Linked DNA regions of Homo sapiens: region 2 is linked to region 1. The links are contacts of gene promoters, found by promoter capture Hi-C in blood cells and fetal thymus (Javierre and others, 2016). All regions are on one chromosome and are shown on one strand. The core of a region is centred on a gene start or on the middle of the fragment in contact, and the rest is flanking DNA. Distances in the headings are between cores, read along the strand shown.

What was found. Contacts are between HindIII fragments. The CHiCAGO score rates a contact against its expected background, and 5 or more counts as called.
Region 2: the fragment with the promoter of RFPL3S here is called in contact with a fragment that was not itself captured in region 1 in 3 of 17 cell types (M0 macrophages, M2 macrophages and endothelial precursors); the score reaches 7.4 in M0 macrophages.

Annotation. Positions count from the first base shown.
Region 1 is chr22:32,017,716-32,021,151 of GRCh38, forward strand. All of the region lies in intron 4 of LINC02558 (long intergenic non-protein coding RNA 2558), which reads left to right. Among named protein-coding and RNA genes, the nearest start is that of SLC5A1, 24 kb to the right of the region's middle. The HindIII fragment of the contact is 2,616 bases long and covers 211-2,826 here.
Region 2 is chr22:32,369,581-32,373,016 of GRCh38, forward strand. RFPL3S (RFPL3 antisense) reads right to left here and starts at 1,684. Exons shown (of 5, transcript NR_104232.1): 1 at 1,618-1,684; 2 at 1,319-1,361. The HindIII fragment of the contact is 20,480 bases long and covers 1-3,436 here.

The DNA of each region.
Region 1 (3,436 bases), core at 269-2,768:
CTTAGCTTTTGCTAGGCAAACTCTTGCAATCCTTTAATCTCAGCTTGAGAGCTTGAGTGTCTTCTGAGATACTTCCTAACCTGCACTACACCCCTAACCTAGATAGCTCAAAGATCCCTGCTCTCATCCTTCCTAAACTTTTCCTAATTTTCAATTTACAGGTATTTGTATAACTATACTTTTAATATCTATGCTCCCCACTAAACTATAAGCTTCATGAGGACAGTGCCAGGCTCTCTTAGCCATCACTGTGCCTAACACTGGGCTAGCACATAATAGATGCTCAATAAATATTAGCTGTGTGAATAAATGAATTAAAATAATGAACATAAACCACTATAATGTGAAAAATGCTGTGATAGTGAGGCAAGGTGAGGCAGAACATGGCTAACTTGTCTAACACGTCTTGCTGAGGGAGGTAGAGAGAGAGAGGCAAAAGAGACAACCATTAAGAGAGAATATTTGCATTGAGTCTTAAGGGGTAAGTAGGAGTTTCTGAGTCAACACAGTTGGGAAAAGGTATGAAGATGTCAGAACATGTGGTATATGTATTCAGAGAACTGGAAGTGCTTGTGGTCTGCATGGCTGGGCAGAACAGCAGGAGATAAGGCCAGAGATGTGGGTAGAAACTGAACCACCAGGGAGGTTGGCCAGTTTGCTAAGCATACTGGAATTCATCCCATCGAACACTGAGGAGTGAGCCAGAAAAGGAAAGGTTTCTAACCTAAGACTCATGGATGGACCCCCTCAGAGGGGGTTTCAGACATTCATTTATCCCTAAAACTCTATGCACAATTGCCATATTTGTGTTTTCTTGCAAAGAGGGCCCATGGTTTCTATTAGATTCTCAGAAAGATCAGTGACCCCAAAATAGGTTAAGAACAACCACCAGCCAGGCACAGTGGCTCACGCCTGTAATCCCAGAACTTTGGGAGGCAGAGGTGGGCAGATCGTTTGAGCTCAGGAATTCAAGACCAGCCTGGGCAACATAGTGAAACCCACCTCTACAAAAAATACAAAAATGAGCCATGTGTGGTGGCACACACCTGTAGTCCTAGCTACTCAGGAGGCTGAGGTGGGAGGACCATTTGAGCCCAGGAGGTAGAGGCTGCAGTGAGCCGTGATCATGCCACCACCACCCTCCTTGGGCATCTTAATCAGAAAATCCCACCCCCACCCCAATCTGTGACTTTCATAGTACTCATAACAAAATATAAATGTATTGTTTATTTATTTGCTTACTTGTTTATTGTCTGTCCTCTCCACTATAAGACAAGCTCTGTGAGGTCTAGGACTTTTTCTTATTCACTGCTCTATTTCCAGTGCCTAGCACACATGGCGTGGAACTTATAGCAGCTCAATAAATCCTTGCTGACAATAAATCTTATTGTAGGTATTTTTTTCATTGTGGTAAAATACACATAACATAAAATTTACCTTCATAACCATCAAGTATCCACTTCAGTGGCATTAAATACATTCATACTGTTGTGCTACCATCTCCACCACCCATCCACAGAACTCCCTTCATCTCACAAAATGGAAACTCTGTACTGTTTAAACAATACATATTAAAACAATAACTCCCCAATCTCCCACCCCCGCCCTACCCCAGTTGCCCCTGGTAACCACCATTCTACTTTCTGTCTCTATGAATCTGACTAACTCTAGGTACCTATTATAAATGGAATCACATAGTATTTGTTCTTTCATCACTGGCTTATTTCACTTTGCATAATGTCCTCAAGGTTCGTCTATGTTTTTTTTTTTTTTTTTTTTTTTGAGATGGAGTCTCACTCTGTCGCCCAGGCTGGAGTGCAGTGGCGCGGTCTTGGCTCACTGTAAGCTCTGCCTCCTGGGTTCACGCCATTCTCCTGCCTCAGCCTCTTGAGTAGCTGGGACTACAGGCACCTGCCACCACGCCCAGCTAATATTTTGTATTTTTAGTACAGACGGGGTTTCAACGTGTTAGCCAGGATGGTCTCGATCTCCTGACTTCGTGATCCGCCCACCTCTGCCTCCCAAAGTGCTGGGATTACAGGCATAAGCCACCGCGTCCGGCATCCATGTTAAAGCATGTGTCCAAATTTCCTTCCTTTTTAAGGCTGAATAATATTCCACTGTATGTATATACCACATTTTGCTTATCTATTCACCTGTTGATGGACAATTGGGTTGCTTTCACCTTTTGGCTATTGTGGATAATGCTGCTATGAACATGGGTGCATAGGGATTTTTAGTCCTTTTTGAAAGCAAGGTAATCACAGAATTGGTGGGCGGATGGACAGATACATGGTTACATGGATGGATGATAAATGAATGGATGGGTAGGTAGACGGATGGATGGATCGATGGGTAGATGAATAATAGATGGATAGATAAATGAAAGCACTCCGAACTGAGAATTAGGAGAGCTGTTTCCTGTCCTGGATGTGATACTTTTCACATGTATGACACACCAGGCATCAGAGATACTGTGAGGTAACAGTGATCCCATTGTAACAATGGCAGTAGTAGTGAGTTAAGAGGAGTTTCAAAATATTTATAAAGATGAGTAACTCTGTGATAATTCATGATCACAGTTGGCATGTGTCAGTAAAAGGATTGTGTACTAGAACTTAAGGTATTGCTGACTAAGGAGAATGGGGTTTCCCTGTGTGATAACCCTGGGAAAGAAGAGAGTGACTCATGTTGGGTAAAACCACATTGAGTACCAAATATAGAACAACTGGAACATTAGTCAAAAGAACATAAACAGTATCAATGAAAATTCAGGAGCTTGCACCACAGAGGATACTGGCAGTGAATGAGTACAAATGCCAAAGAAGCTTGTATAAATGAAGAGTGCAGAGAGAGGAGATCTTGAGGATATTGAGCTCTGTGCTGAACTGGCCCACAGGATTTGCTCAAACATAGTCTCACCATCCATGGCAACTATAAGAACCAATCTCAACAGAAAAAGGAAAGAAAACATAAAGCTTATATAGAAAGAAATACAAATGGCACACAAACATATTGAAATATACCAAATCTCTCTCTAATAAGATAAATGCAATCAAAACTACAGTGAGATACTATTTTTTACTTACTAGACTGGAAAATATCATAAACAAATTGATGACACATTACGTTGTGAGAGGAAACATGTACTCTCACACATTCACTGTGGGGAGCATCAATTGGTACCACCTGTAACAGTAATTTGAGAACATCTATCAAAATTATATCAAGAGAATGAGAAGATAAGGCACAAAGTGGGAGAAAATATTTGCAAAATATGTACCTGACAAATGACTATTATCCAAAATATGCAAAAAAACCTCTTAAAACTTAACAATAAGAAAATTAACAACCTAATTTAAAAATGAGCAAAAATCTGAATGTCTAGACACCTCACCAAAGAAGATATATAGATGGCAAATAAACATATGGGGAG
Region 2 (3,436 bases), core at 434-2,933, 350 kb after region 1:
ACACATGTAAGTGCCTCTAACTTTCGATTGTTTCCAAGTCATGGAACGAACAACCTCCTTAGAAAGAACTCTGAAGGATAGGTCAGGAGAACTAAGTCACACAATCCATCAGAAACAGTATTAACAGTTTTTCAAAGTTACACTTTATATGCAAACTTGTACAATTATCATCTTATTATTTTTAAATGTATCTTTACATATATGTATGTGACCTACGTGTTTCCTGGTGTGAGTAAATCTGTATGTTCTTGGTTAATAGTGTTTACCGATTCATTTCACTTCTCTATCTTTGTATGTTGAAATATGAACTACTCTCTGGATGAGAAAAAATGATTACACTTGATTATATTTACCTTTGGAAAGGTAAGTGGTTTGGGTGATTGACTATAATTGTTATCTCTATCATTTTGGATAAACCCCAATCATAAAAATAAGTGTGTTTTGTTTCACACACTGACACATAGACAATACACATTCTTACTTCTTTTCAAAAAGTTAATATGTGAATATAAATGACATATTCCAAATTTACTAAACTGAATACACATTTCATGAAAAAGGAGAGAGGAAAGACATACTAAAAACAGGCCAGGGCCTGGTGTGGTGGCTCACGCCTGTAACACCACCACTTTGGGAGGCCGAGGCAGGTGGATCACCTGAGGTCAGGAGTTCAAGACCAGCCTGGCCAACATGGTAAAACCTTGTCTCTACAAAAATACAAAAATTAGCCGGGCATGATGGTGGGTGCCTGAAATCCCAGCTATTCGGGAGGCTGAGGCGAGAGAATCATTTGAACCCGGGAGGCGGAGGTTGTAGTGAGCCGAGATCGCACCGTTGCACTCCAGCCTGGGCGACAGAGTGAGACTCCATCTCAAAAACAAACAAACAAACAAAAAAACAACAACAAAAGACAAAGATGGACACACTTCGTTGTGTTAAAAGCCTCAAAGACATCTGCATCATTCTAGCTTTGCTCCTAATTTTTAAAATTAATGATTTTAATAGGTTCTTAATTAGGTAAAAACTGCATTAAAACATACTTTGCCATATTTTTCCCAGAAGGATACCTAATTGGGTGGTTTGAGGGGTGCCAGATGTAACAGGAAATAAGACATGTCTTTTAAATAAAGGAAAAGCTCAAAGGCATCCTGCTTGATACTAGAATCAAATATATAAATTGAGGAATAAAACATAACCGGGAAACACATTTATAACTGCATATGAAAAATACAGAGGAGAATTTTTTAATAAAATATATTTTTAAATATTAACTAGTACATTTGAGAGGACAGCATTCAACAGGCCAATGTGAACATACCTTTAATGCAGGAACTCAGGTTCCCCATAAGAAAGACCAGAATCTGTGAAAATGACAGCAAGCATGTTCAACCTGCTATGAACTTTGAAAAACTCAGCACAGACAGTGGCAGTTAGGACCGAGGGCAAGATATACCCAATCACATAACCATGGTGATAGGAGCATCATCAACGTCTCAGGGTAAAGTCACAATGTGTATTGTGAGGTCCGCTTTCTGCTGCACCAACAAGAGTGCTTTCACACGCACAGGAGGGTCATTAAAGATTAGGCCTTTTACGGCAGGGAGTGGTGGCTCACACCTGTAATCCCAGCACTTTGGGAGGCCGAGGTGGGTGGATCACGAGGTCAGGAGATAGAGACCATCCTGGCTAACATGGTGAAACCCCGTCTGTACTAAAAACACAAAAAATTAGCCGGGCGTGGTGGCGGGAGCCCCCAGCTACTCGGGAGGCTGACGCAGGAGAATGGCGTGAACCCGGGAGGCGGAGCTTGCAGTGAGCCGACATAGCGCCACTGCACTCCAGCCTGGGCGACAGAGCGAGACTCCGTAAAAAAATAAAATAAAATAAAATAAAATAAAAGATTAGGCGTTTTACTTAAAAAAAAAACAACAAAACCCAAGCTCATTAATTACTATTCTGTGCTTATTAAAATAAGTTTTAGGAGGAGAAATTGTGTACCCCAAAATACACTCAATGGCAAGAATTTCAAACTGAGCAGGGGCAAAACCGATATGTTAGTAACAACCAGAAGTTCCATTCTCGATTCGAAATTCCATTGCCAAATATTTCTACCATTCCTGAGTCATCTAATATTTCTAGAACCAATAAGCAAACTGTTCAGAATTAAAGACAGCATAAATGGATATTGTTATAAAAGTCATGTTTCTTAAAAAGTGACATTTTTTAAAGTCACATTTTAAAAGTCATATTTCCCTAAAAAGTCATATTTCTACCATTCCTGAGTGATCTAATGTTTCTAGAAGCAATAAACTGTTCAGAATTAGAAAAAAGTGTTACTTGATATTATAAAAATCATATTTCTCTCACAATATAATTATGAAACTTATTTTTCCACTTATCTCTATATATTACTATGCACTTATTTATCTCCCAAACTTTGTGAATTCACAGAGGAATTTGTCTACCATTGTGTATGTAAACGGCTGGCCATTCACTGAGTATTTAAAGGAAAAAAAAATCACTATATTTTCACCAGTGCATCTTCTCGGTGGGGTGAACACTTTGGGTGAATACATATAATTTTTTATTTGAGACAGGGTCTCACTCTGTCACTCAGGCTGGAGTGCAGTGGCTTGATCATGGCTCACTGCAGCCTTGACCTCCCAGGCTCAGGTGATCCTCCCAACTCAGCCTCCCATGTAGCTGGGACTACAGGTTCTTGCCGCCATGCTCAGCTAATATTTTGTAGAGATGGGGTTTTTCCATGGTGCCCAGGCTGGTCTTCAACTCTTGGATTCAAGCAATCCACCCACCTCGACCTCCCAAAGTATTGGGATTAGAGGCGTGAACCACCATGCCCAGCCTAATACATATAATTAAAGTGTTTCTGAATGCAGAATTTTAGATAACTTTCAAAATGTATAACTACGTGTGTATTCTGGCTGATACATAACACCCAATTGCAAATACTTTTATGATATGCCCAAGAAAACAAGCTGTTGAAAGTGACCTGCCCTAAAATAAATAGAACAAATGAAAATTTTAGGGTTAAGATGAGAGAGTTGCTATGTTTCAAAGAGAATAGGTACCCTTCATGATATAAATATTACAGTACAAATGTCTATCATTGCTAAGTACAAATTTCTAGAACAAATAAATAGGTCACAAATGATGTATACAATCTGCATTAATATAGATGATGCTATATTTTGTCCAGTGATTATAAAACAGAGGGTGTAATGGGGTAGGTGCTGAAAGAATAGGTCATTCTGTGTTGTTATAAACAGAAAATTTCAATGGCTTCCAGATTGAACAAATATATGTATATACACAAATTATACACACACACACACGATACTATAGTTATATGTGTATGTGTTTGTATACTCAGAAATGCAGCAAACTAAAAAAAAACTTTAACAATCCCCACAGATTC